2 separate regions of the Homo sapiens genome follow, and region 1 is linked to region 2. Evidence: promoter capture Hi-C in 16 types of primary human blood cells and fetal thymus (Javierre and others, 2016). All regions are on one chromosome and are shown on one strand. Each heading gives the region's core, a stretch centred on a gene start or on the middle of the fragment in contact. The rest is flanking DNA. Distances are from core to core; before and after follow the strand shown. Region 1 overlaps PRKG1 (protein kinase cGMP-dependent 1). Region 2 holds the start of TFAM (transcription factor A, mitochondrial).

Region 1 (5,932 bases), core at 1,742-4,241, 6.7 Mb before region 2:
AGTGATATGTTTTAGATTATCAAGGAAAGCTTTCTGATGGAAATGAGATTTAGGGAAGGGTTATAATCTGGCATAGATAGGTAGAAGATGAAGAAAATAAACCAGAAGCTAGTAATAGCCAACGCAAGAAATTGGGACCTGGTGTTTTTTACGGCCTCAGAGGAAACCAAGAGAGTTGGTGAGGAGTGTGACAAAAGATGGGCTTCTGGGACAGATTATAAAAGGTTTTGAAGTTCAGATTCATGAATGTGAACTTGATGTGAGAGTCAGTAGGCTTCCTTCACCACCCCCTGAAACATGAACATAGAATAATAATGGCAGAGGCTTAAGAATACCAAACTTATCTAATCCTTTTCTATATATTTTCTACCTAGGCTGTTCTTTTTTAATACCTTATAACTTTTAATCTAAATTGTGGTGGTTGTTCTTCCTACATATAACACACTCTGTTACGTAGCTTCATTCTCATTACTTCTCTCCATCCCTTCACATATTCTCCTCTGGCTAAATTGTACCACTCACTTTTTATCATACATGATCTGTATTTTTTCACCTCCTAGCTTTTTGTGATACTATTTGTCAGGGATGCTTCCTTTTTTCCTCTTCTTCTCTTCCCTCCCCCATGTTTAAATCTTTCTGTTCTTCAATGCTCACCTCAAAGACTTCCATTTAGAGTACTGGTTTGGTACTCATTATCTTCTATATTAGAGGTATCAATATTCTTGTATTACCATAAAATCCATATCTGATTGATATTCTCCACAATGCCTGGTCCAGTGCCTTTTATATTCCAAGCACTTAGTAAATATTTTTAAATTAATACAAGATCATCTTACAATAACAAAATATAGATGTTAACCAAATGATAATTTAGTGCCTTTTGCTTACAAAATACTTTTCTCTGGGTTCCCACATTTAGTCTTGATAACAGTCTTATGAAGTACATGCAATTGTTTCCTGATTTTTAACAATGAAGAAACTCAGAGAGTTATTATGTAGAACTTTACCTAACAATGGACTCACTCAAAATACAGATGCTTTATAAAGGCAAACTCTGAGCACTTAGTAGGGAGAAGGCTCTTTGATAAATGCTTTATATAATATAATATTTTATTCTTTCTGCAACCTTTTGAAGATAGGCAGTCATAGTTCCTCAATTTATAGGTAAAGAACAGAGGCACAGAGAAGTTAACTAGTGTGCCTATGTCAACTAGCAGAACGAGGATTTGAACACAAACCATTTGGCTTAAGAAATCAAGCTCATAAATCATTGTTCTATTAAATGAGTTGCCTAAGGATACATAGCTACTAAGTGGCATAACGACAACCTGAAAGCAGGTCTCCTGAATTTGAACTTTCTATTTCATAAGTAGTACAGTAATCACAAGTTATTGACGCCTGGGCACCATCTCCCTTGGCATTTTTCCTGTTTGTCTCTGAGTGTAACTAATTGCAGTTGTGACATCACAATCAGTGCTGTGGTAACAGATGGACTGTGAGGTATAAAGACTGAAGCAATAGAGAAAATGTTTCCTTTTTCAATTTGCAGGACTATAGTTAAACTTCACCTAAAGACTTTTATAAAGCATCCAGTTAGTTAAAGCATGCATTTTTCCATAAAATGAAAGAGCTCAAATTAATTTGGTATATAACTTTTTTTCCCAAAATGCTTAGTGTATTTAATATGAAACAATGTACAGAGGAATAAAAAGCAAATTTCATGTACTCAAACTCCTAACCTCAAATGCTCCACCTGCGCTGGCCTTCCAAAGTGCTGGGAGTGAGCCACAATGCCTGGCCCTGAATTTCATTTACTTATACACAGGATGAATCACTGTTATTGGCAAGTGCAGATTACATGAATTTGGGGCTGCTGGGAGTCTGCCATTTCTGGACTTGAGGTTGAACAGAACCAAATGTTCTCCCTGGAAGGGATTGCGAAGTCCAGCCCAATTTTTTTTTTTTTAATAGATAAAGAAAAGAAAATGACGCCCAGGAAAGGAAAGAAATTAGACCAGGCTCAAATGTCCAGTTACTGATCTAGCTTGTAAAAGGATTTAGATATTCAGATTTTTCTCATCCAAACTATACTCTCAGCACTTAGAAAAGGCAGTAGAGTGAAGGAATTAAGAGCACAGAGATTTTAATGTCAGAATGACTTAGATTGGCTACCTAGTTCAACACGTAATTTTGTGGCATTGTACAAATTACTTCGCCTCTCTGTGGTTCCATTTCCACATCTTTTAAATGAGAGTAATGTCACCTGTATTGGATTATTGTGTGGAATACATGATATACTTATATTTTTATTATTCCTTACATTGTATGGTCATTATTAATCTACATTGGTTATCTAGTAATAGTAGATGAAGTAGCATCTTATGTGGAAAGAGACACAAGTTTTAGTCTGATGCTATTTATTTGGGGGCCTATATCTTTATTTTTATTATTGAAAGGCTTGTACTTGTACTAATGGTCTTGTCAGATTATATTATTTTCAAGTTGTACAACCTTAACACTGCCATTTTAGCCTTTGGTAGATTTGTAGTTGAAATGGATACTTTTTAGGCTTGATCCCATAGAATACTTCAATGAGAATTTTACCGATCATCTTGGTGCACATTAGGTTCTTGTACTAAACCATGAAATGCACTCTTCAAATATGTAGTCGGCTAGAATTCCACTTGTCCATTTTTATTAAAAGGGCCTGCCTGAACTTTGACTGTGGAGGATATAGGCTTATTTAACACCACATCGTTCTGCCACACAAGGTACCTACTCGAGCGCATAGTCCTGTTCAGGGTGATATTAGGACTACTACTTTTAAGTGTGCACTGGCAGACGTAGGCCATTTATTCAAACATAGAAAGGCATAGCTAATTAGACAAGAAGCAGAGCTCCCTTATTCGTGCTTCAGGCTGTCACCCGAAGGAACGCAGAAGTATCCTCATAAACTGTGGAAAAGTACAAGCCCTGTAACTAGGTCTGAATAAAGATACCCTATTTAAGTGGAACAACGCATGAATCTTTTTTTTTTTTCCTGTGACCGGAACAATACAACACCTCACTTCAGAGAAATGTGTAAACTGCCACTCACTTCAGAAATTTGGCTAGTATATCTCTTCTGAGGCTAGGTTGGTCTGAGAATGTGCCTATATTTGTACCAAGTTACAGGAAAGAGGCCTTTCTGAAAACATTTGATTCCAGGCTCAGACTGTTGAAAACAACAAATGTCAGTTTAACAGAATATATTTTAGATTCATTATCACAGTTGAATGATCCTTGAAAAACATTATGTCAAGAATTCCAGTTTAAATTTACCTTCTAACTCTGGATTCTTGAGTTAGAAATTAGAAAACCTAAAATCTAATGTTTATAGGAATGTAGTAGCTAGCATTTTATGGTACACGTACAGAAACCAATTCCAACCAAGGTAAGCAAAGGAAGTGGTGGTTATTTTCATGACATTTTGTTATCTCTCAGAACCCACAGAAATTAATCTGCTAGGCTGCTGTATTAGAATACCACAGACTTAAACAGAAATTTATTTTCTTACAGTCCTACATGCTGGAAGTTCAAAATCAAGGTGCAAGTAGGTTAGGTTTTTCCTGATCCTCTCTCCTTGGCTTGCAAATGGCTGCCTCCTCAGTGTCCTCGCGTCACCTGCTGTGTGCATGCACTCTGGTGTCTCTTCCTTTTCCTGTAGGAACACCCATTGTATTAGATGAGGGGTCCACACGTATGACCTCATTTAATTATAATTATCTCTTTAGAGGCTCTGTCTCTAAATACAGTCACATTGTGGGCTAGGGCTTCAACATATGAATTTTGAGGGACATAATTGACTCCGTAACAAGCAGTAATGCAGTAACCTCTAGGAAAAGAAAAAATGGGTAATTGTTGGCATTCAGAATACTCTATTCCCATCTCTTTCTCTCTCTCTCAAAATCTTTGTCTCCCACTCCCTTCCTCACTCCCTCTTCGCTGCATCTCTTTGTACATTTGTGGTGGTTTTCCTCTGTTGAAGGATCAGATCTCCTATTTCTCTCTCTAGTCCATTGTCATTCCAGTTTTCTGGAACTGGGAATCTGAAGGTCCAGCTTTATTCTGGTGTGTATCTGTGATTCAATTCAGCATTGTTAAGAGGTTGGAGCCAGAGTGATAGTGAGACCATTTACTAGTCTATGTCTGCTGGGGCCGGGTAGTCAGCTGGAGCAGGAGGAAGCCTACAGACCTTTGCGGTGCCAGTTGTTAACCTCCTTTACCTTCCAGGTCATGGAGAGGTCAGGAGACTGACTTGAGGGGCTTGAGGGAGCATCTATCATCCTGTACCACTGGTGTAGCCATACTGGTTACTGCTGAATGTCTATCCTGGTTGACCATGAATTCCAAAAATACTTTGGTGACCTACTCTTATGAAGGAAGGGAGCAGTTAAAAGGGCTGTTTTGAGCTAGACAGCCATTTCCAATGCACATTCTGCCAGAGAAAGTTTGTCCACAACCTTCCTCTAAATCATTCTCTCAATCTCTACAAAACATAAAACATTATTTCCAAAAATAGATCATTTTCTTAGAAATGTTTAAATGTGGACTTCCAGTTAGAAAAATGGTCTAATATAAAACAGTAGAGGAATGTTTAGCCACCAATTCACAGTTTTTAGAAAGTTCCCACCATATATAATGCGTGATCTTCTTGAAGGTGAATACACTGTACTTTTAAAATATCAAACTCTTCCATCCTTCATATAAAAATATTGACCATTTTTCTTGACAGTTTAATGACAAAATCATAGCAACAATTCTTTCAGTTATTATCATCTTTATCACTATCATCTGACATTTATGCTGAAATAGCTGTGTATACGTTCTTGCAGAGCAGTACAATGAGAAACTTTTCTCTCTGGCCTCCAGGTGTTTGTCAATTCCATCCTGGCTCTGGGGAACAAAACAAGTGCCTGCAGGAAAACAGGGAAGTGCAAATGACCTATTCCTCTAGAGCTCAGCCTTTTGTTAGCCTTGAAAATGGAATTGCCTGTGTTGGTCCATAGCCCTTGAGGGGTCTAGGAAAGAGAAGCTGATGCCTGCAGGGAGAATAAAGAAAGTGCCAACATTTTTCTGCCCATGTAGTGGTCTGGAGTTTGCTGCCAAGTGGTCTGGAGTTTGCTGCCAAGGTCCCAGGACTGGGTAATAGTTGCAGGTCTTCATTCTTATCAGCAGGACTTCCACAGGGAGGAGAGGTTCTGGGAAATCCTCCTGACAGCAGGTGTCTGCAAATGGGGAGGCAGAGATGAGGGAGGGAAGGAAAGTGTTTGCATCCCCACCAGGAAGGAAACTTACCTGACACATTTCGTAGCAGCAAGGGTTTGACAATGCTTTAGGATACTAAAGCTAGGATACTCATTATTCAACTAAATGTTGAATTTTATATATATCAGCATGTATTTTATAAATACTGAGTATATACTCTGTGGAAGGTAGGCACACAGTTGAACAATATGGGAGTTTAAATGTGAACGAAAATGTGACTTCTCTTTTCAGTAGTACTTTCACAGGAAACTTTATCATTAGCCTTTCTCTTGAACTTACACTGAGGATTTATGGTGCTCAGATTTGAGTCTCTGGCAGAACAGCTGTGCCTGCAAGGAGTTTCCCTTCTGTCAGACAAGATAGAGAATAGACGATTTGAGCAGACAGCTTCCAAATGCATTTTTTGATTTGTTTGATTTCCTGAGAGGTATATAGAAAATGAAAATGTAACTGCTGTTCATCCATTGACCCTCTTTCTGAGGTTCAAGATGAAAGATTTTTTTTTTCTTTATTACTGAGAAAAGCACTGTCCCCGAATTCTATCTACCTGTACATACTGAAGATAGGGATTATGATTTATAGTGGCATTCCACTCAAAGTCAGCATAACACTAACAGCTCCTCAC
Region 2 (6,216 bases), core at 1-2,500:
TTCCATGCCAGAATGGGAGGTTTGAACAGATGACTTGGAAGGTCCCTTTCAACCCTGGGAGTCTATAAAAGGGAAGTGGTTATTACCGCTTAAAAGAAGAAGTAGGCTTAGTCCTACTTCCAGAGAGCCAATGTTTTCATAGTTACAGAAAGGTAAATAGACTGTCAGCTCAATATGACACTGGTAAGAATTTTCTAACAATTACGGCTATCCAACAGAAGAAAGGCTGTCTCAGAAGGTGGTTAGCTCTGAAACAACTGGTATTTAAGGGCTGGAAGGACCCTTAGGTATCTTTAGGTCTTCCTAATCTTTTTCATGCCATTGCCTATACAGAAAATGGTATTTCTATAACACAAATAAAAAAATTATACAGCAATTTTTGACACATCAATGTCTCAAGGCATACTTGTCACACGTTCTCAGGGCTTTGGCTGGGAAAACTGATTTAGTCTAACATCCTCGTTTGCAGAGGGGGAAACTGAATCTTAACGAGGGAATGCAATATTCCCAAGTCAAGACGTTAATGTTAATACTGGAACTAGAAGAATTGAGACTAGCGACTGTGGACAACTAGCCAGTTTCCTCTGCTCAAATTAAGCAAGCTGGAGGCCAGACTGAAAGACTGCAGTAGATGGTAGAATAAACAGTCTAAAGCTATATTGCTTTAAATGTGGTCTCAAGACCACCGACATTAGAACTTGTTAAATTCTGGGGAACTCGCTAAAATGAAGATTAATGGGCCCCACATAGACACACGGAATTAAGCTCTGCGGTAAGGCCTTGGAATCTGCATTTTTAGGTTTGCGAATCCCCGCCTCTCCCGTTACTATTTCTGAACTCCGAGCTCCAGCCCTGGCTTGAACTGAGACGCTCCGCTGGGCGCGCAGCAGCCGCCGATCGGACCTCGGGGTCCTGGATGCAGGACTGTCTGTTACGTACAGCCCTTGTGACCGTCACGGGCGGACACCGGCCAACGCCGGGTTGGGGTGAGGCCGCCGCCGCGGTCCCTCCATCACCCTCCTGGCCCGGCAGAGGAACCCACTGCTCCGGGCGGCCGGGGACAGAGGTGGCTCAACAGCGCCGCCTCGAAGCCAGAGCCCTCCGCAGGCTAGAGGATTGCGGTTTCCCTTCATCTCCGCGGCTCTTATTCCTCCCCCGCAAGGCCGCCCACCGGGGTACGCTCTCCCGCGCCTGCGCCAATTCCGCCCCGCCCCGCCCCCATCTACCGACCGGATGTTAGCAGATTTCCCATAGTGCCTCGCTAGTGGCGGGCATGATAACACACGCCGGAGGGTCGCACGCGGGTTCCAGTTGTGATTGCTGGAGTTGTGTATTGCCAGGAGGCTCTCCGAGATTGGGGTCGGGTCACTGCCTCATCCACCGGAGCGATGGCGTTTCTCCGAAGCATGTGGGGCGTGCTGAGTGCCCTGGGAAGGTCTGGAGCAGAGCTGTGCACCGGCTGTGGAAGTCGACTGCGCTCCCCCTTCAGGTAGGCCCGCTTGCCTGTGCCCTAGGGGCAGCAGGGCCCAGGACGTCCCGGGGTTGGAATGTAGACCCTATCCTTCACTTTCTGCCCCTCCTAGGAGTTCAGAGTCACCCTGGTTCTTTGATTCAGACCGCGACCTTGCCAAGGGGACGGTGGCCTTGAGACCAGGCCTTTATTTACTCTCTTAATACGCCGTACCTTCTTGCTACCCTCCACTCGCTTCTCCCATCCCTCCTCACTGTCCAGCTTTGGATCCTTTCCGCCTCCTCTGCGAATTCGCGCCGAGTCTCCGGCCATCATCTAGGCATTGAGGAGGCGGGGCCCAGGAGCTGGAGTATAGACGCTTTCCTTCACTCCCTGCCCTTCCTAGGAGGTAAGGGCTTTGAGACTTCAGTCCTGCAGACGCTCCCCTCCGTTTAGGACAGGGTTTTAATAAGTCTCTAGCATTCTTGTTGAAGGCGTTGGATACATAGTATCTTGATGACATTTCTTATTTGGGATCTGTGTTCATATACATGTGAATATTGACAGTTAAACATCTGACACTGGTTATTTTCTTTTTGTTTATATGTAGTTTTGTGTATTTACCGAGGTGGTTTTCATCTGTCTTGGCAAGTTGTCCAAAGAAACCTGTAAGTTCTTACCTTCGATTTTCTAAAGAACAACTACCCATATTTAAAGCTCAGAACCCAGGTAAGGAGTTTTGGGGCATATACCCTTTTCTCATGTAATAAAAATGCCATTAAGCAGTTAAATACCAATGTTGAATTGCAGTGCTAAAGCATTCAGTGACTGCAGGAACAATCATTTGATGTCTGTAAAATAGGAAGTTCTATTTTATACCAAATGGAAATGCTTTAAATATAAATGAGAACTAGTAAATGGTATTTTAAAAATAACGTATAGTGTAGAAAGCACCCTAGGAAGAGGATAAAAAAGCTGAATTTGGGGCCTTGTTGCCTTTGGTCTAGAGGACCACTGATGAATTATTTTCTCTTGCCTAGCTCCTCCTTTTTCTGGCTCAGGGAATTGTTAATAAAGTTGCAACTTCTGTGGAAGCATCCATAAACTGTAAGTTCTGTAGAACTGTAAAGTTCTATGCAATTTACTGCTAATTTCAAGAGCTTTCAAGATAAGAAAGGATAAACCTTTTCATCATAGGAGTTCAGAGCCACTCTGGTTCTTTGATTCAGACCTCGACCTTGCCAAGGGGATGGTGGGTTGTAAAGGATAAATCCTTTCTTGTCTTGGGTTCCTAAAAAAAAAACATTTCCAGGTAGGATGTTTGTTGACTCTCTAGAAAGCCTCTCGGCGAGAATAAAAAATGCTCACATCAGGCTGGGTGAGGTGGTTCACACCTGTAATCCCAGCACTTCGGGAGGTCGAGATGGGTGGATTGCTTGAGCCCAGGAGTTCGAGAACAGCCTGGGAAACATGGAAATCCTGTCTCTACCAAAAATACAAAAATGAGGTGGGCATGGGGGCGCAGTGCCTGTAGTCCCAGCTACTTGGGAGGCTGTGGTGAGAGGATCACTGGATCCCAGGAAGTTGAGGCTGCAGTGAGCCATGACTGCTCCACTGCACTCCAGCCTGGGTGACAGAGCGAGACCCTGTCTCAAAAAACAATAATAATTTTAAAAAAAAGCTCACATTATAGGTAAGGAGTTAGTTTCAGAGACATGCTTAAGTACCCACATCTTTTAAATGTAAGAGTTAGTACTAACAGGTATTTTTAAAAATCAATTAATTGCACGCCATCATTCCGGTTAAGATGAAGAAGGAAGTGGAGAATAACAGATTGAATTTCGAATAGCTTGTTTCCAAATGATATTTCTGTTATTGAAATACGAGGCTGTGTTATATGGATCGAGAATGTATTTTGTTGTTAGCTTTTATAAATTTAGGAATTCCTCAAAGACTTGAAAAAGTGTTTTGCTTGAAATATGGAAGGGAAGTAAAAAACTTGAAGCAATTGATCATCCAGCTTCTTAAACTAGTAATCAGCCTGGTGTGGTGGCTCGCGCCTGTAATCCCAGCACTTTGGGAGACTGAGGCAGATGGATTGCTTGAACTCAGGAGTTTGAGGCCAGCCTGGGCAGCATAGCGAAACCCCGTCTCTACAAAAAATACTAACATTAGCTGGACATGATGGCGCCTACCTGTAGTCCCAGCTACTCGGGAGGCTGAGGCAGGAGAATCACTTGAGCACAGGAGGTGGAGGTTGCATTAGGCCAAGATTGTACCACCGCACTGCAGCCTGGGTGATGGCCTGGGTGACGGACCCTGTCTCAAAAAAAAAAAAAAATCCTAGTAATCAAACTGTTGACTGTTTCTGGTGGTATATGGTATACTCCTTAGTTGTTAGATAATAGACTTTTGATAATGTTGGATAAATTACTTACGTTTAAATTAGTTGGATAAAGGAAAGTTAAATCATTATATTAAGTTATGTGTGGTATGGATTGTGCTTTCCTGGATATCTTTAGAAATTAATCCTGAGAGGTAAAATTGTGGCATCTTTTTTCTTTTTATTTCATTCCATAGATGCAAAAACTACAGAACTAATTAGAAGAATTGCCCAGCGTTGGAGGGAACTTCCTGATTCAAAGAAAAAAGTAAGCACATAAGTTTTCAACATTGCTGACCAGTTATTCTGCAGTTAGGAGCAATTGTCATGTCCTTTAAAGGACCAGATGGATCAGACTTTTTAAAAAATAATCTGTTATCTACAAAGAAACTTTATGTCTTCTCATCTGCATAAATAATGAGAATATGGATGTATGGGGTGGAGGTGAAGAAGTGGCAGTAGTTTGAAAATGGAAGCTGATTACTAAACTCTCACCTTGATTAGTATATATAAGGAAAATGTATGTTTTAATCCATATACATCTCATCCCAGAGCACATTTTCCACCTGGTGATAAAATCTGTCTGTCTGAAGTCATGCAGTTGCCTTTCCCTGGCATGTGCTATGTTGAATTTGCCAGCAATGGTTTGTTGACTTACTTGGGTTTTTTATTTATAGATATATCAAGATGCTTATAGGGCGGAGTGGCAGGTATATAAAGAAGAGATAAGCAGATTTAAAGAACAGCTAACTCCAAGTCAGATTATGTCTTTGGAAAAAGAAATCATGGACAAACATTTAAAAAGGAAAGCTATGACAAAAAAAAAAGTGAGTATCATTGAAATACTTTTTTCTTATGGTAAAGAATTGAGATTTATATAACTATGAATATAGGTAGTTTTCTCTTAATAGGCAAATAAAATATGGTAGAATGTCATCAAGTATTCTTCAGTTAGGCAGAAGTGGGATAGTTCTCTTATGAAAAGTGAGATAGCCACTAGGACCACTTGCCATTGAGTCTGTTTGGAAATCCTTGTTGCTACTTGCAGATGTATCCACATTTAAGGTGTACAGTTCGTAGAACAGTAATGGAAACTACAGGAACAGAGTTATGAAACAGTCAAACCAGGAGTATCAAGAATCTTTGCTTCTGAGTCTTCTTTAGAATAACGTATTAATTTGAATTATTCTATAGATTATGGTGAGTTTGATATGGAATATTGCTGAGTAGACTGCATTAATTCATTAACACATCGGAAAAATGCCAATTTATCTAATCAATTAAGTGCCTTTAGGATGGAATTCTTTTTTTTTCTTCAAAGAAATAACTATTAAAAACCTCACATGGTTCAAAATTTGTAGTTCCCAGCTTAATGTATTAATTCACATAAATGTCATCATTTGAAAGTTATACATTTTTTTCATAGAGCCAGTATTAGTTTTGAGGTGGTCAGTTTGCTAGTCGTGTACCTACACTATTACAAATGATCATCAGAGTTAAAACTATTTCTTTGAAAGACTAGATTACAGCCTTGAATGTGGGATGCCAATACGTCTTTCCCTGACCCTAATGTTTTAAGCTGTCCTAGCACTAGGGTTGAGGACCCGCCCAGTTTCGAGACCATGATGCCGCTACTTTAGGGTGGCTGATCTAATCAGTAAAAGGGAGCCAGAAAGATACTAAGAGTGAAAAATAGAGTGTCTACATAAGGATGGTGTTTGGAAGAGTGATTACTAAAGTATATCCTCCCTCTTTCATTCTCCCTTCCTCCTTAATGCACCCAGCCCACTGTGCTAAGAGTAGAGAGGACCAGAAGCATGAATTGGACATTTATAAAGTTTCCCTTGTCATTCTCTCTTTCTTTTGTAATTGTTCTTGACTCCCAGTACCAACTAGTTCAGAGATCAAGTGAGAAGTGTGAGGACTAGGAAGTTACAAGTAAAACCCTCAGGAGAGAAATCCCTAGTGATAGCTCTAGAAACAAAGAGGGAAATAGTTAAGTTGTAAAGTGCTTGGAGTCTATAGTAGTTTCAATACTCAGTGACTGAGAGATTCAGGAAGAAGAAACTAAATCAGAGGAGCCCTACTTACAGTTATGAATAAAAGTTGAATTTGTTACTGATTATAGCCAAATTGCTATTAAGAGCCACAGAATTTTGTAAATTACAGGTACTACTTACTATCCAAATTCAGAAACTTAAGTATAATAATGCAATATCACTCCCTGAACTCAGAAATTAAACTGATAGTAAGGGATACTTGTATTCTTTTCCACAGTTTCTTCCCTTTTGGTAACTAGTAAAATGAATTTAACACAACTATGGAGCTTTAAAGGTGGAGACATTCAGGGAATGGAGTGAGATGAAAGATTATTAAACAAATA

Evidence for each region. The method cuts DNA at HindIII sites, captures the fragments that hold promoters and counts their contacts. A CHiCAGO score of 5 or more calls a contact.
Region 1: a fragment that was not itself captured here is called in contact with the fragment with the promoter of TFAM in region 2 in 1 of 17 cell types (fetal thymus); the score reaches 6.6 in fetal thymus.

What each region holds. Positions count from the first base shown.
Region 1 is chr10:51,704,563-51,710,494 of GRCh38, forward strand. The region is part of intron 3 of PRKG1 (protein kinase cGMP-dependent 1); the gene reads left to right. Among named protein-coding and RNA genes, the nearest start is that of CSTF2T, 7.9 kb to the left of the region's middle. RefSeq lists an enhancer at 4,714-5,214. The HindIII fragment of the contact is 5,928 bases long and covers 28-5,932 here.
Region 2 is chr10:58,384,160-58,390,375 of GRCh38, forward strand. It overlaps TFAM (transcription factor A, mitochondrial), which reads left to right and starts at 1,251. Exons shown (of 7, transcript NM_003201.3): 1 at 1,251-1,489; 2 at 2,061-2,179; 3 at 4,031-4,101; 4 at 4,511-4,660. The coding sequence starts at 1,389. RefSeq lists enhancers at 702-801, 995-1,651 and a silencer at 932-1,311. The HindIII fragment of the contact is 8,486 bases long and covers 1-6,216 here.